Linked DNA regions of Homo sapiens: all the other regions are linked to region 1. Evidence: promoter capture Hi-C in 16 types of primary human blood cells and fetal thymus (Javierre and others, 2016). All regions are on one chromosome and are shown on one strand. The core of a region is centred on a gene start or on the middle of the fragment in contact, and the rest is flanking DNA. Distances in the headings are between cores, read along the strand shown. Region 1 holds the start of GTPBP4 (GTP binding protein 4). Region 2 overlaps LARP4B (La ribonucleoprotein 4B). Region 3 overlaps WDR37 (WD repeat domain 37). Region 4 has its middle 3.5 kb from the start of WDR37. Region 5 overlaps LARP4B (La ribonucleoprotein 4B). Region 6 overlaps WDR37 (WD repeat domain 37).

Region 1 (2,700 bases), core at 24-2,523:
TGTCAGGAAGAAATAAGAAATGGTGGAGAGAAGTGGGGAAACAACTTTTGCTATGAAGGTAAAATACGAGACTCCCACAAAGCTTTCCAAGGCAAGCTCATCCCGTCCTTGAGACCTGAAGAAAAGGAGGCACTGACGAGGGGAAAACAGTCACTCTGCAGGGACTTCAGTAACTCCCTCTCGTGCAGGAGTCCCTGGGAGGCTCCAGTTGCCCGTCAATGTCTGTGTAATTGCGACCCAAATCGAATGTTCACTACATAAAAACGTGACTTCTTAAAAGTCCTAATACTAGGGCCGGGCGCAGTGGCTCACGCCTGTAATTCCAGCACTTTGGGAGGCCGGGGCGGGAGGATCACCCGGGATCAGGAGTTCGAGGCCAGCTTGGCCAACGTGGTGAAACCCCGTCTCTACTAAAAATACGAAAATTAGCTGGGTGTGGTGGTGCACGACTGTAATCCCTGTTACTCGGGAGGCTGAAGCAGGAGAATCGCTTGAACGCGGGAGGTGGAGGTTGCAGTGAGCCGAGACTGCGCTCCAGCCTGGGAAACAAGAGCGAAAAACTATGTCTCAAAAAAAAAAAAAAAAAAAAAAAGTCCTAATACTCAACACTTGTTGACTCATTCTTGCCACACCAACCAACGCTGTAAAAATTTAGTCTGGGCCTACTATGGTCTGAAAAGGAACAGGTATTCCCAAATCTAACAGTGAAAGAGAATGACTTAAAAATTATGAAACGTTAAATCACGAGAACAACGAACCCAGGATTCCTGAGAGGGGAGGGGGCTACGCCAAACCCAGAATCCGAAGGCTCATCACGGACCACGGAACGCTTCCTCCCTCACATGTCGGGGTCCCCCTCCACTCGCCCACATCGTCACCCGGGGCCCCTCCAGGGAACCCAACTCTGGGTGTACCCCCATCTCTGGGGGCCCTCAGTCTTTGGGTGGACCACGGTCTTAGGTGGACCCCGGTCTCTGGGGGATCCGATCTCTGGTGGACCCCGGATTCTGCTGGGGGAGGGGAAATGATCCCGAGTACGCGGCCAGACGGTCAGGCCCAGGAGCGGGGGATGGGCGAGCGGAAGGCGACCGCTCTCCCACGGCTACAGGCCCGGACCCTCCCCGGGGACCCAGCTGAGGAGAACGCGAAAGTTGCAGTGGCCCTCCCGGGGCCGCCTACCTTGGCGGACGGCACCACCGTAATTTTCTTGAAGTTGTAATGTGCCATGCCGGCAGCCGTATGCACGCGGGTACTTGGCACTCCCGGAACTTCCGCCGTCGGGCGCAGGTGGGACTTCCACTGTCGGGCGGTTGAGGTACGTCACTTCCGGGAGCTCAGCCAATCGTGTTCTGCGTGCTCTACGGCGCTTTCCGCGTCGCACAGCGCACCCGCCCGGCTTGGAGGTCAGCCACGGAGGGCGTGTGAGGGCCTCAGGAGCGAGGGTACAGAGGAGAGGACGCCCGGGTTTTAGGGGGAGCGCGGAGACTAAATTCCTGCTGAGTAAAGCGGGGGTTTCCGACAGACTGCCCTGCGGGTTTCTGGAGCGGGTTCAGGCCCCCAGCCACGCGCCCTGGGCCAGGGTTGGAGGGTCCGGGGTCTTGGGATTTGGGAGTTGCGGGGCTTAGGAGTCCAGAGGGTCTAGGGGATCCGGGAGTCTGGGGGTCCTGGGTCGCGGCGAGCCCCGCAAAGGAGGAGGAAGCCGCGCGTGCGGGGCGTGCCCAGCCTCTGGGTGTGGAGCAGATGACGCCCCTACCCCGGCCTCGCGCGTGGGACTTGATCCCGGGCCGTGGTGAGGAGGCCCTCGCGGCTTCCCTGCAGCCCTGCTTTCTCGTGCTTGTTAAATCCCAAAACGGGCGGAGAAGGGAAAGCCTGATCTAAGGCAAAAGAGGTGCAGCTGGTTCCGCGCAGTGCCTTAGGAGAGCCCAGGGAACAGTTGCGAGAGACAGTCCTGTGGGGTCCAACTGAGGAGAAGGTTGATGAGGATGGAGCCTTTACTGCTTTTATGTTTGTGAATAGAGTGGCCGCTCCCTTTGGGAACCCAGGGCCACATCCCTTAAATTAAACGTTAGGTAGGGCTGACTCAGTCAAGCAGTGTTCAGAGCTGCTGACTATATATTAACTCGTTTAATTTCTGCAACAGCCTCATGAAGTGCATGGGGAAACAAAGGCACACAAGGCTCGAAAGCACCCCGTGGTTGTGCAGCTGACAAGCTAACAGGCAGCAGAGGTGGGCTTTGAACCCAGGCAGCCTGGCTCCAGCAAACCTGCTTCTAACCATTAGCTATACTGCTTCTCACGCATCTGGGATGCCCCCCACTCTCCAATCCTTTTAAACAAGTCCTATTATTCTTACGCGAAAATACCTCTCATAAATTCCCAGCATTCCAATATTGAAAATCATTCTGGGTCATGCTTTTCTCATCTATTAACTATGCTTCCATTTTTGTGTCACAAGGCGGATAAGCATACCTCCTACATCTTTGTGGCACTTCTAAAGGAAGCTTCTAGGGTAATTAGGATTTGCTGGCTATGATCATTTGCTAAACCACAGGACAGTTCTGGCCACCATTTCCGAGATTAGCAAAGCTATGCTCATACTTATTGCCCTTTCTTTTAGGTTCTTGTATGTTTCCTCAACCTCTCCCACTTTCTCTCACTCTGATATAGCCAGTTCCTCTTTTTCTTGTAATCCGGTATTTA
Region 2 (2,700 bases), core at 161-2,660, 86 kb after region 1:
AATTCCTTAAGGTAAAAGTAAATTATAAAAGATTGAATCAGGCAGTTCTGCTCTTTGTCCAAAAGGTAAGATTGCATGTGAAACATCAACAGGAAGTTGCCTTTTCCTCCTCTGGACTCTGGGTATACTTTGTTTGCCATCTGCGAGATCAGTCCATGGCTGAGAGATGGCATAAGTGAGCCTGAGTGCAGCAGTGAGCAGGTGGGTCTGAAGGATGTGGAAGAGTGGAAGTAGGGGACGCTTGCAAGTCAGGAGAGGCTTCCTGGGCATCCAGCACACATCCTGCCAGGTTAGGTTGAATCTTGTTTGTCCAGGTTGACATTCTCAACATGAGAAGTAATTTCTAATGGAATAAAATGCTGATGGACAGAAAAATGGAGGTTAGAATATATTCTAAACAGACTAGACAAAAGAGACAACTAGCTTTTCAACCAGGTAATTTAACATCTGTATTAAAAAGATTTTATGCCAGGCACCGTGGCTCACACCGGTAATCCCAGCACTTTTCGAGGCCGAGGTGGGCGGGATCACTTGAGGTCAGGTTGAGACCAGCCTGGCCAATATGGTGAAACCCTGTCTCTACTAAAAATACAAAAACTAGCTGAGTGTGGTGGTGCACACCTGCAATCCTAGGTACTTGGGAGACTGAGGCAGGAGAATCACTTGAACCTGGGATGTGGAGGTTGCAGTGAGCTGAGATGGCACCATTGCGCTCCAGCCTGGGCAACAGAGTGAGACTCTATCTCAAAATTAAAAAAAAAAAAAAAAAAGATTTTATGTTTCTGCTTCAACTTGAGGTTAAATGAAGTGAACGTGCTGCAGCTGTGCCCTGCTTAGACTGCAGATTTTGGTTTTGATGCTTCTTGGTAGTCCAGTATTTGACAAAGGAAGCTGTGTGAATTAGCTAAGCTTGTGTCCTAAAAAGATACTCCTAATGTAGTTGTCAACTTTTCCATTTGCTTTTCCCTTTGTGAAAGTGTGTGAAAAGGTGTGGAAACCCTTCCTAAGAAGCTCTTTACTGGGAAAGGTGTAGCACGGGATAAAAGCAAGAAGTGGTACTCCGAGGGCCATGATTCGCACTGCTGCAGCTTAGGGCTTGTGCAAAACAATGTTCTGTGCATTTGGTTCAGATACTTTATTTCAGCTTCTTTACAACCAAGTATTAGAGTGGTGGTTTTTGAGTTCGTCAAAGGTTTAATGAGTAAAATGCTCTCCTAGCCAGAGGGTTAATGAGATGATCTAAACTCCAGTTTCGGTGGTTGTTTTGTATTATGTTTTAGTAAGAATCCTAGCTAAAATGGTCTTTTCAAAAGATTGTACTCTCCAGAAGATAATGTCGTAGACCCAGTCACAGGCTTTAACGGTGGAGGGGACCGTTGTCCTTTTTTTGTGTGTCGACTTAGTAGACACGTTCTAAATTTAAAATCAGGAAGATTTTGAAAGTATATTATTTGGTGGTCTTCTCATGTAGGTACTTTTTCAATCAGATCTTGCTAACAAATAAGTTTTTGTATCTTGTGTCTGATTATGTCCTCCTTAGGAGGAGAACCAACTCAAACTATAAATAAAACTCACATTTTCTCACTGCTGTTTTTTTCAGTAGAAGCACCGATGTACACATATAAAGGACATTTTACAAAATTAGTCTTGAAATTTATTGGCAACATCTCCTTAGGAATACTCCAGTGCTGAGTGCCAGTTTAAATGTATAAACAACTACTCTACTGAGATTGGACGCATTTCTTTTATCCGTCAGTATCTTTGAGTGACACACTTACTATAAGAACATGAAACGAAAAGAATGGAATATCATAGAGATACTGAATCTTGAAAAAAACAAAAGACTAAAATAACAGTTTTGTTGGAAGCAGCAGTCTGTTGCTCTGTAAATGTTCCCACTATTCAAGCTTACAGATTCACTTGAGTATATGATGTGTATAAGGTACATGGAAGGAACATAAAATAATCTGCCCTAAGGTGCTCTCACATTATTCTATTGTAAGATAAAAATGTGCATTTCAAATATTACAGAGTGGTGCTGGCAGCCGTGAGATAAACCATATCATCCAACTAACAGCACAAGGCAGATGGATGAGGAACTAGAATTCCTATTGTATTTTATTTTCTGCACTTCTCTATTTAGATATGCACGTGGGAATCATAATGAAAATTTCTGTTAAGAAATATATCCTTCTGCTGGGTGCGGTGGCTCACTCCTGTAATCCCAGCACTTTGGGAGGCCGAGGCGGGTGGATCAGGAGGTCAGGAGTTCGAAACCAGGCCAACATGGTGAAACCTCGTCTCTACTAACAATACAAAAAATTAGCCGGGCGTGGTGGCAGGTGCCTGTAATCCCAGCTACTCATGAGGCTGAAGCAGGAGAATCGCTTGAACCCAGGAGGCAGAGGTTGCAGTTAGCCGAGATTGTGCCATTGCACTCCAGCCTGGGCAAAAAGAGCAAGACTCCGTCTCAAAAAAAAAAAAAAAAAGAGGCCAGGCGCTGGTGGCTCACACCTGTAATCCCAGCACTTTGGGAGGCTGAGGCAGGCAGATCATGAGGTCAGGAGTTCGAGACCAGCCTGGCCAGTGTGGTGAAACATCGTCTCTCTAAACATACAAAAATTAGCCAAGCGTGGTGGCGTGCACCTGTAGTCCCAGCTACTCGAGAGGCTGAGGCAGGAGAATCGCTTGAACTCGGGA
Region 3 (2,700 bases), core at 44-2,543, 90 kb before region 1:
GTGTCGATTTCTCTACGTACTGGGAAGAAAAAAGTTTTCAAAAATCTAAAGTATGTTTTTATGTTTAAGTGTACTCACCACTTCCAAAACTCGCACACAGAAAAAATGCTATATATTAGTGTTATATAAACAAAGACATGAATAATATTCTAATAAGCAAGATCACAATTCATAGAGTTCTCAAAAAACTAAAGAAACCATTCGAGGCTGGGTGAGGTGGCTCACGTCTGTAATCCCAGCACTTTGGGAGGCCAAGGCAGGTGGATCACGAGGTCAGGAGTTTGAGACCAGCCTGACCAACAGGGTGTCTCTACTGAAAATACAAAAAATAGCCGGGCGTGGTGGTGCATGCCTGTAATCCCAGCTACTCAGGAGGCTGAGGCAGGAGAATTGCTTGAACCCGGGAGGCAGAGATTGCAGTGAGCCGAGATCACGCCACAGCACTCCAGCCTGGACAACAGAGTGACACTCCATCTCAAAAAAAAAAAGAAAGAAAGAAACCATTAGAGATACCATTCCAAAAGTAAAAGCTCACACACTTGCTACACTGTGGAAGACACTGCTATCAGGGTCTCAAAGACAGCACCCGCATTTCAACATAGTTTCCATAGTGATTGATTCTGCACGATTAAAAACATTATTCTGGGCTGGGCACAGTATCTCATGCCTGTAATCCCAACAATTTTGGAGGCCGAGGCAGGCAGATCACTTGAGGCCAGGGGTTCAAGACCAGCCTGGCCAACATGGCAAAACCCCTTCTCTACTAAAAATACAAAAATTAGCCAGGCATGGTGGTGGGTGCCTGTGATCCCAGCTACTTGGGAGGCTGAGGCATGAGAATCGCTTGAACTTGGGAGGCGGAGGTTGCAGTGAGCCCAGATCACGCCACTGCACTCCAGCCTAGGTGACAGAGCAAGATTTTGTCTCAAAAAAAAAAACAAAAAAGTTGAAATGATTTTTCCCTCTATGAATTGTAAAGGTGGACTCTTTAAAAAGGAGAATCCAGTATTAACATTAAAATTTCCAAAAGCAAAGTTTAAATGACAGAGGATTATATTCTCTTCATTATTCATCCAACCACACCACTTAGTTACAGAGTGAAAAACAGCTTAACAATGGAAATGCTCTTTGTTAGTATTCAACCTTTGGAATCAACCTGTAGATAAAGCATGAAAGACTTGATTGTAGTTACATTTGTCTAGTACAAATTTTATAGTTTGGGTGTGGTGGCTCACACCTATAATCCCAGCACTTTGGGAGGCCAAGGTGGGAAGACCACTTAAGCCCAGGGGTTTGAGACCAGCCTGGGCAACACAGTGAGACCCTGTCTTTATATATATAAATTTTACAAACACAAACCCTGAAGGAGAAAAACTGGAAAGTAATAGAGCAGCGCAAAGGACCTGTTTATTTCACTGTGAAGCATTAACACTAAAGCGGATAGATCTAAAACCAGAAGATGATTACTTACATTCACAGGACTAACCACCAAAAGAACCAAAAGCAAAAACATGCAGAAAATGTCTTCCTTTGAAGAGTGCGATGGGCTTGAGGGGTAATGGTAGATTTCTTTTTATACTGTCTGATAAATTTTTAAGCACATATGGCCATTACTTCCAAAATAAAAAAAAGATAAATTAAAGCCAAGCTAATTCAAAATTGTTTTGATTTGTCTTTAATAAGTCAGATATAGTATATGCATCAATTTTCAAATGATGGTATATTAATAAAAAAGTAAATCAATGTTTTCTCAATTTATGGTGTACTTGGTGTAGGGAAAATGATAAGATCCATGTATTTTTTATTTTTTATTTTTATTTATTTACTTTTGAGACGGAGTCCTCGTGGGAATTATACCAGACCCACAGAACTGCAAGATGACAAATCTGTGTTAGTTTAAGCCACTAAAATAAGTTTAAGTTTGCTACAGCAGAACAGAAAACTAATATAGTGATGAATGTCTATTCATAAATTTGACTATGGATAGGTAAAGCTATAAAAGTATATTAAAATAGGAGATACTCACATTCTAAGTTTTCGATATAAAGGTTTTCAAATTCTCTTTCTATTTGACCAAACAGTTCCAGAAGTGTACTGCGAACCGAGGAAGGCAGTTTAGAATCCTGCAGAAGAAGACTTTGTTTAAAATGAATGAATGAATGAAAAACTCTAAGTACAAATATGCTTTTTCCAAAGTGAATTATCTTTTATTGTAAACTCTTATTTTGTATTATTACATATTTTTATATATAAAATGCTTAAAGAGTTTAAAGTTCCAAATTTCTGCCAAGGAGACTATAAATCAAATTGTATAAATGGCTACCTAGTATGATATGGGATTTGAAAATAAACACTCCTTCAAAATAACACAATTTTTCCCTTTACAAGAGAGGACATAAGCCTACCTTATTTTAAAACTTCCAAATTTGGAGAGAAAGGCGGCAGCTCCCATAAATGAACTATTATAAACAGCCTCTGAGTGCCATCATACGCTATCCTACAAGTATTTTAATCTGCTAGACCCTCATGGAAGAGGCACCTTTGCAGAGTTCCCGCCACACCCACTGCACTTTAAGCAAAAGCACAGTCACTCTCCCATCACTCGACATAACACCTAAAAGAGTGTTGTGAAGAGGAAAAAAAGAAAAATTTCACAAAAAAGAGCCAAATGTCTATTAATTGAGTGAAAACATTAACTTT
Region 4 (2,915 bases), core at 48-2,547, 65 kb before region 1:
GTCATGTAACAGGCACAACTGTTTTCATGTGTATCACTTTATTGCACTTCACAGGTATCATATGTTTCTTACAAAGTGGAGGTTTGTGGCAGCCCTGCATGGAGCAAGTCTGTCAGCACCATCTTTCTAACAGTATGTGCTCACTTCATGTCTCTCTCACATTTTGGTAATTCTTGGAATGTTTCCGTTATTAAATCAGTTATAGTGATCTGTGATTAGTGATCTTTGATATTACTGTCATAATTGCTTGGGGGGCACCATGAACCACCCCTATATAAGACAGCAAACTGAGTCGATAAATGTTTTATGTGTTCTGACCACTGCACTGACCAGCTGCCTCCCTATCTCTCTCCTTCTGCTCAGACCTCCCTATCCTTGAGACACAGCAATACTGAAATTAGGGGCCAGGCATGGTGGTGGCTCATGCCTGTAGTCCCAGCTACTTGGGAGACTGAAGCAGGAGGATTGCTTGAGCCTAGGAGTTCGAGGCTGCAGTGAGCTGTGATCACGCCACTGCACTTCAGCATGGGCAGCAAAGCAAGACCCTGACTCAAAAAAAAAAAAAAATCAGGCAATTAATAGCCCTAAAATGGCTACTGTTTCATAAAAGAATGAGTTGCACATCTCTTACTTTAAATCAAAACTAGAAATGATTAATGATTAAGCATGGTGAGGAAGGCATGTTGAAACAGCTAAGTCGTGAATGCAAAGGAAAAGTTCTTGAAGGAAATTTGAAGTGCTCCTACAGTGAATACACAAATGGTAAGAAAATAAAACAGCTTTATTGCTGATATGGAGAAACTCTGAGTGGTCTGTATAGATTAAACCAGCCACAATATTCTGATAAAGCCTAATCCAGAGTAAGGCCCTAACTCTCTTCAGTTTTCTGAAGGCTGAGAGAGGTAAGGAAGCTACAGAAGAAAAATCTGAAGCTATCAGAGGTTGGTTCATGAGGTTGAAGGAAAGAAGCTGTCTCTATAATACAAAAGTGCAAGATAGGCCAGGCATGGTGGCTTATGCCTGTAATTCCAGCACTTTGGGAGGCCAATGCAAGTGGATCCCTTGAGGTGAGGAGTTCAAGACCAGCCTGGCCAACATGGTGAAACCCTGCCTCCACTAAAAATACAAAAATTAACTGGGTGTGGTGGCACACGCCTGTAGTCCCAGCTACTCAGGAGGCTAAGGCAGGAGGATCACTTGAACCCAGGAGTTGGAGGTTGCTGTAAGCCAAGATCACACCACCACACTCCTGGGTAACAGAGTGAGACTCCATCTCAAAAAAAAAAATGTGCAAGTGCAAGATAAAGCAGCAAGTCATCTAGGAGATCTACCTAAGATCACTGATGAAGACGGCTTTGCTAAACAATAGGTTTTCATTGGAGTTGAAACAACCTTATTTTGGGAAAAGATGCCGCCCAGGACTGTCATAACTAGAGAGGAGAAGTCAAAGCCTGGCTTCAGAGCTCCAAAGGACAGGCTGACCCTTGCTAGGGGGCTAGTGCAGCTGATGACTTTATGTTGAAGCCAGTGCTCATTTATCATTCTGAAAATCCTAGAGTCCTTAAGCGTTATGCTAATTCTAGTCTGCCTCTGCTGTGTAGATAGAACAACAAAGCCTAGATGACAGCACATCTACTTACACAGTGTGGTTTACTAAATATTGTCAGCCCACTGTTGTTGAGACCTACTGCTCAGGAAAAAAAAAAGATTTCGTTTCAAAATATTACTGCTGATTTACAGTGCTCCTGTTCACCCAAGAGCTCTGATGGAGATATACAAGGAGATTCATGTTGATTTCATGCCTGCTAACACAACATCCCTTTTGCAGCCCATAGCTCAAGAAGTCATTTTGACTTTCAAGTCTCATTATTTAAGAAATACATTTTGTAAGGCTATGGCTGCCCGAAGATGTAACTGAATCACTGCACTAGCATAATAAAACATGAATGGATAAGCAGTTGCTTCTTGTGGATGAACAAAGAAAGTGGTCTCTTGAGATGGAACCTAATCCTGGTGAAGATGTGAACACTGTTGAAATGATAACAAAGGATTCAGAATACTCCATAGACTTAGTTTATGAAGTAGCAGCAGGGTTTGAGAGGATTGACTCTAACTTTGGAAGTTTTCCTGGCCGGGTGCGGTGGCTCATGCCTATAATCCCAGCATTTTGAGAGGCCAAGGTGGGCAGATCACAAGGTCAGGAGTTCAAGACCAGCCTGGCCAACATGGTGAAACCCAAGCTCTACTAATAATACAAAAATTAGCCGGGCATGGTGGCACACGCCCATAGTGCCAGCTACTCATGAGGCTGAGGTAGGAGAATTGCTTGAACCCAGGAGGTGGAGGTTACAGTGAGCCAAGATCGCACCACTGCACTTCAGCCTGGGCGAAAGAACGAGACTCTGTCTCAAAAAAAAGTTTTCCTGTGGTTTAAAAAAAATCTTTCATGAAAAGAATTGTCAATCAACGTGACAAATTTCATTATTGTCTTATTTTAAGAAACTGCAACAGCCACCCCAACTTTCAAGCACCACCTTGATCAACAGCCATCAACATTGAGGCAAAACCCTCCACCAGCAAAAAGATTATGACTCATTGAAGGCTCAGCTGATGGTTAGCAGTAAAAAATATTAACTTTAATCATCTCGACCATTCAGTACTCATCTAATATTCTCTATAACAAAATGGGAAATGCACATAAAGCACTTCTGCTACATGCTGAATTATGATTGTTGTCTCCAGGAAAAGAACTTGTGGGAACGTTTGAGTTGTAAGCTGAACTAACTAGCTGCTTTTTTCATGAAATACCGCTTTTACTGGAAAGAACTGACAGATAAACTGAGGTATTCAAACCTAGATATTTGGCAGACATTTTCGTGAAAATAAATATGTTCGTGCCACTTCAAGGAACATAA
Region 5 (2,871 bases), core at 157-2,656, 110 kb after region 1:
GGCTATTTACAGTTTAGCCATTCTGTCAGAGTTGAGTAGGAGGAGACGTGCAATAGAGATACCCAAAGAAATACATGAATAATTCAGGAGCAGATTTGCATTTATCCACTGGTACTATTTAGTTGTATTTATTAGACAGCTTCCTGCCCTCTCCAAAAAGCTTACTGAGCTAGTAACTATTTACAGGGTTAGCCAAAGAACACAAAAAAGTGATCTCTATTAGACTGTAAGAATATGGTTTCCCTGAGATCGAGACCATCCTGGCTAACACGGTGAAACCCCGTCCCTACTAAAAATACAAAAAATTAGCCAGGTGTGGTGGCACACGCCTGTAGTCCCAGCTACTCGGGAGGCTGAGGCAGGAGAATGGCGTTAACCTGGGAGGCAGAGCTTGTAGTGAGCCGAGATTGTGCCACCACACTCCAGCCTAGGCAGCAGAGTGAAACTCTGTCTCAGAAAAAAAAAAAAATGGTTTCCCTATTTAGTATGAGAACAATATATTATAATGAGTGACATGATTGTCAGAATTACTCAAATTTGTGTACATGTTTTCTCCACTAAACTGTAAACTTCTGGTACTGTGTTCTGTTCATTAAAAAAAAAAACTTTATTAAAGTATAATTTACATTCTGTAAAACTCACCCATTTAAAGTATGCAATTGAATTATTTTTAGTAGATTTACTGAGTTGTGTAATCATCACCATAATGTAGTCTTAGAACTTTTACATTACCCCATTAAACCCCCAGCCCACCCCCAGGCCCACTTATAGTTAGGCCCTGTCTCTAAGGATGGGAGCATCCTTGGGCAGGCACAAACATGCTCTGTGTCTCCACATTCTGTTCCCTTCTGTGGCCAGCTCAATGCATTGTGTCTGGTAGGCAAGCAGCTAGTACTGCCTGCATAAAATTTGAGTATCCATCCATTCATCAAAACTGAGTGCAAGTGATCATGATGGCTAAGACATTTTCTATGGAGAGGTTGTTCAGATGAGCGTGAGATACACGTCTTCGAGGAGCCCTAACACAGCATGCAAGATTGCATGATCACATTGTGTGTGAGCCTTAGGTACAAGATGAGCGTACACCTGGAGGTGGGAGGCACTGAGACGTAGGTGAGTCTAGAAGAAGCACTCTTTATCTTGCCCCTAGTCAAGCAAGGTCATTTTGAATGTTCTCACCTTGAGGTCATAAGGATCTACTGATTTTGAAGTATATCGTACCAATAGTTATGATTACAGTACTTTGCATTAAGTTTACCTGAGTTCCAGGCAGGGACAGTGATGAAACTCTCGATTCCCTCAATATATCAGAAACAGGAAGGAATCTAGGACGCGGAGTGGTCAGAGGGATGGGAGGAAAACCAGAGGACAGTGTGGGGTGGAGATAGAGGCAGGGAGGCTGACTCAAGTGAAGTGTAGTAAGGTAACAAAGCGAGGGGTCAGTTGTGACCTTAGCAAGAGTATTTCCCAGGACTGATAGGAGCAAAAGCCAGATTGCAGTGGGTGAGAGACAGGAGTGGTAGACACAACTTAGACGGTGACATTCCTCCTAAGATCTTGGCTTTGAAGGTAAGGTGATAGAAGGCGAGAGGGGATTGAAAGGGTTTTGAGGGTGTTTATGATGAAGAGTGACCACTGGCAGTGGGCCACAGCGATGGGTTCTCCTTCTTGAGGAAGAAAAAATATCTGACCACTGGTATTCAGCAACAGTGTCGTTTGGTTAAAGGTTCTTTACCTTCCCTGTTAGCGCCACAAACTTCATCTATAGCAAACATCATTCTCAGCGGCTTTTTGCCCCTCCTGAAGCCCACTCAGGGACTCCAGTTCTTACTCCTGTGTGCGACCAGCCAAGTACCTGCTTTTCCCTTGGAGACACTACATCAGCCTGGAAACCATTTTCTGTTGAAATGATCCTCTTGTGTTTTATCATAAATCAACAGCAGGTTTGAGAGAGGAATGTGAGTGAATGATGATGTTTAAGGGACAGGTAATATTAGGTAGAAGTGTTTATGTTAAATTACCTCCTCAGAAGAAAGATGCAAAGTCACAGCAAGTCTTTTCTAATCATAGTGTGAAACTGGAAATCTGAAATTGGAAATCTAACTCATCCTCATACTAAACTCTATGTACAATTCAGCAAAACATCTATATCAGAATGATTTTTTTTTTTTTGAGTCAGCCTCACTCTGTTACTCAGGCTGGCTATAGTGCAGTAGTGCGATCTCTGCTCACTGCAGCCTCTGCCTCCCGGGTTCAAGCTATTCTTGTGCCTCAGCCTTCTGAGTAGCTGGAATTACAGGCATGCACCACCATGCTTGGCTAATTTTTGTATTTTTCGTAGAGATGGGGTTTCGCCATGTTGCCCAAGCTGGTCTCGAACTCTGGCCTCAAGTGATCTGCCCGCCTTGGCCTCCCAAGGTGTTGGGATTACAGGCTTGAGCCACTGCACCCGGCCCAGAATTTTTTTTTTTAAACTCCTTTACAGATGGTAATACCAAAAAACTTTAGTCCCTTCCTTTATCAGTTTTCAAAAAACCACCTTTGCCTTTTGATGACACAGCTTCTGAATGAATAACTATTAATTAGCAATTCAGATTAATTATTGCAGGCCTATATTTTGAATAAGAGTAGGCTTAGCAATCAGAAAGCTTGAATTTCTATGAAAATATCCAACTCCTGTATTTGTACGCAAGTGACACGTGGCTGCTCTTGGTATGTTAATCTTGCAGGTTAGACCTTTTGGCAGGTTGTTACCACCTTGTCAGTCTGTTTTAAGAACAGACTTGGGCCAGGTGCGGTGGCTCATGTCTGTAATCCCAGCACTTTGGGAGGCTGAGGCGGGCGGATCACCTGAGGTCAGGAGTTCGAGAC
Region 6 (2,700 bases), core at 96-2,595, 110 kb before region 1:
GAATTTCCTGAGCATCAATGCTCACCCTCCTCACCTCTCCACCACGCCCACCATCAGTGCACATTTTGAATTTCCTGAGCATCAGTGCTCACCCTCCTCACCTCTCCACCACTCCACCACGCCCGCCATCAGCGCACATTTTGAATTTCCTGAGCATCAATGCTCACCCTCCTCACCTCTCCACCATGCCCGCCATTAGTGCACATTTTGAATTTCCTAAGCATCAATGCTCACCCTCCTCACGTCTCCGCCACACCATCAGTGCACACGCTGAATTTCCTAAGCATCAATGCTCACCCTCCTCACCTCTCCACCACGCCCACCATCAGCACACATTTCACTTGTTTCATCACTAAATGTGCGTGTTAGTGGACAGTGTTATGCGCTACATAATGAATAGTCTGGCAATTCCACAAAGAGAACAAAACTGTGTTAATACACAATACATGCAGTTAAAAATGAACTATGATAACCTCTATTAGGACTAAAGAAAACTCATTTATCACTGGAATTTATTAACTGCTTAACTATCTCCACATAGAACAGTGTTTAGAATGTTCACAAAGCAGAAAACTCAAGGAATATTCCAAGATGAAAATATCAAAACTAGATTACTTTCATCCTTGCAACAATCACAGCCCAATACAAACTGAAACTTCTAGACGTGGACGTCATTTACACTGTCTGCCTGGCACTGTTCCCACCTGTTCAGGCACCGAACTGGGGGGGCTGAGCACGTGGGAAGATCACGCCACTAACATTTATCCTGTCATTGAAACTAGGGAGATAACTGCTCTCAGAGAAACATTCAGGCCTCTTTGTGATCATAAACATAGGGCACTGGGCTACTGCAGAGAGCACAAGGCAAACAGTAAGTGAAGAATTTTATGAATTTATGGTATAAATACATGAATTCATTCTTCTCAATACACATCTTTTGTTACCTACGTTTAAATGTGAACCACATAAAATTGATGTCATAAAGGCCATTAGTTGATGTGATGATAAACGTCCATGAAAGATACACCAGATGTCTAATATTAAACAGATGAAACAGTGAGAAACAGGATCCAAACATCAACTGTAAGAGAGTGGACGGTAAATGTTTACTGTCTGTTGAAAGGAAGGATGGAGCAGATGCATGCATACAGAGGTGAAGGAGCATCTTTCTAGGCACTGTCTCATTCAACGCAGGCTGCCAAAACACAAGACTACAGGCCAAAAGGCTTCAAAAACAGAAATTAGTCATCTTCCAGTTCTGGAGACTCTAAGTCCATGACCAACGTGTCAACCAGTGCAGCTTCTGGTGAGTCCCCTCTTCCGGTGTGTGGCACCGCCATCCTGCCGCGTGCCCACAGGGGCTCTTCTATTAATATTAGCACAGAGAGGCTGGGCACGGTGGCTCACGCCTGTAATCCCAGCACTTTGGGAGGCCGAGGAGGGCGGATCACGAGGTCAAGAGATTGAGACCGTCTGGCGAACGTGGTGAAACCCCATCTCTACTAAAAATACAAAAATTAGTTGGGTGTGGTGACACGCATCTGTGGTCCCAGCTACTCGGGAGGCTGAGGCAGGAGAATCCCTTGAACCCGGGAGGTGGAGGTTGCAGTGAGCCAAGATCACGCCACTGCACTCCAGCCTGGGCAACAGAGCGAGACTCCATCTCAAAAAAAAAAAAAAAAAAACGGACAGATGGGGAGGGGGTAGAAAGAGAGCGTGCACACACAAGGGCAGCCATAAGGGTGAGCTGTCTGGTGTCTCTTCTGACAAGGACACACTCATCCTATGGGATCAGGGCATCCCCTCCACTACCTCATTTTGCTTTAACCACTTTCTCAGAGGCCCCATCTCCAAATACAGCCACACTGGGGGTTAGGGCTTCAACACAGATTTCTGGGGGACGGAGACATTCAGTTGAGAACATCCTGTCCCTGGCCTCCCCCAAATTCATATCCTTCTTGCATGGCAAATACAGTCATCCCATCCCAACAGCCCCAGAAGTCTTATTCCAGCATCAGCGCTAAGGTGTGAAGTCCCAAGTCTCAACAAAACATCACCTGAATCAGGACTGGGTGGGACTCAGAGTGCGATTCGCCCACCCTGAAGCTGAGCTCCCCTCCAGCCGTAAACCACGGAACCCAAACAAGTTACATGTTCCCAAAATACAACAGTAGGGCAGGCACTGGACAGACGCTCCCTTTCCAAAAGAGAGAAAGAGGCAACAGGGAAAGGGTGGTGGGGCCCAAGCAAGTCCAAAACCCCACAAGGCAAACTCCACGAGCTCTTCAGGCTCCAGAGAGTCCCTCTTGGTCTGGATGCGCCACCCTCCAGGCATGCTGGGGCAGAGGTGTCACCCCCTTGGCTCAGCCTGGCAACCCCACCCCCACAGCACTGGACCATGGGCAACCTGGCCCTGAAACCAAGGAGGCTCCCACACTTCGAAACCAAGGAAGAAACAGGCTCTTGTCCTGGGACTGCAGTGAGAGCTGCAGCCCTGCCAACCTCAGAATCACCTTCGGGGCATTCTTCCCTCATCTTGAAGGGTGGTAAAGGTTCTCGCCCAGGCAGCTCTGGTTTCTGTGCTGTGGAATCCCAGCAGTCTGATGCCTTCCTTCATTCTGTCCCCACCATGTCCCCTCTGGTTCAAGCTGGCGGGGTCTCTGGGTATAATCCCATCTCCAGTCCTGGATCCTGCTGCGG

Evidence for each region. The method cuts DNA at HindIII sites, captures the fragments that hold promoters and counts their contacts. A CHiCAGO score of 5 or more calls a contact.
Region 2: a fragment that was not itself captured here is called in contact with the fragment with the promoter of GTPBP4 in region 1 in 12 of 17 cell types (monocytes, neutrophils, M2 macrophages and 9 more); the score reaches 29.1 in monocytes.
Region 3: a contact is called between a fragment that was not itself captured here and the fragment with the promoter of GTPBP4 in region 1, in 7 of 17 cell types (neutrophils, monocytes, naive CD8 T cells and 4 more). The highest score is 20.5, in neutrophils.
Region 4: a contact is called between a fragment that was not itself captured here and the fragment with the promoter of GTPBP4 in region 1, in 15 of 17 cell types (neutrophils, monocytes, fetal thymus and 12 more). The highest score is 32.6, in neutrophils.
Region 5: a contact is called between a fragment that was not itself captured here and the fragment with the promoter of GTPBP4 in region 1, in 5 of 17 cell types (monocytes, M2 macrophages, M0 macrophages and 2 more). The highest score is 13.0, in monocytes.
Region 6: a fragment that was not itself captured here is called in contact with the fragment with the promoter of GTPBP4 in region 1 in 2 of 17 cell types (neutrophils and monocytes); the score reaches 11.9 in neutrophils.

What each region holds. Positions count from the first base shown.
Region 1 is chr10:987,007-989,706 of GRCh38, reverse strand. It overlaps GTPBP4 (GTP binding protein 4), which reads right to left and starts at 1,273. Exons shown (of 17, transcript NM_012341.3): 1 at 1,180-1,273. The coding sequence starts at 1,227. It also overlaps a transcript of LARP4B not described here. The HindIII fragment of the contact is 2,419 bases long and covers 85-2,503 here.
Region 2 is chr10:900,709-903,408 of GRCh38, reverse strand. The region is part of intron 1 of LARP4B (La ribonucleoprotein 4B); the gene reads left to right. Among named protein-coding and RNA genes, the nearest start is that of LARP4B, 30 kb to the left of the region's middle. The HindIII fragment of the contact is 998 bases long and covers 912-1,909 here.
Region 3 is chr10:1,077,330-1,080,029 of GRCh38, reverse strand. It overlaps WDR37 (WD repeat domain 37), which reads right to left. Exons shown (of 14, transcript NM_014023.4): 3 at 2,027-2,123; 4 at 1-19. Among named protein-coding and RNA genes, the nearest start is that of WDR37, 22 kb to the right of the region's middle. The HindIII fragment of the contact is 5,962 bases long and covers 1-2,700 here.
Region 4 is chr10:1,051,385-1,054,299 of GRCh38, reverse strand. It overlaps a transcript of IDI1 not described here. Among named protein-coding and RNA genes, the nearest start is that of WDR37, 3.5 kb to the left of the region's middle. The HindIII fragment of the contact is 5,007 bases long and covers 1-2,915 here.
Region 5 is chr10:879,989-882,859 of GRCh38, reverse strand. The region is part of intron 3 of LARP4B (La ribonucleoprotein 4B); the gene reads left to right. Among named protein-coding and RNA genes, the nearest start is that of LARP4B, 50 kb to the left of the region's middle. The HindIII fragment of the contact is 2,488 bases long and covers 163-2,650 here.
Region 6 is chr10:1,097,312-1,100,011 of GRCh38, reverse strand. All of the region lies in intron 9 of WDR37 (WD repeat domain 37), which reads right to left. Among named protein-coding and RNA genes, the nearest start is that of WDR37, 42 kb to the right of the region's middle. The HindIII fragment of the contact is 3,550 bases long and covers 1-2,700 here.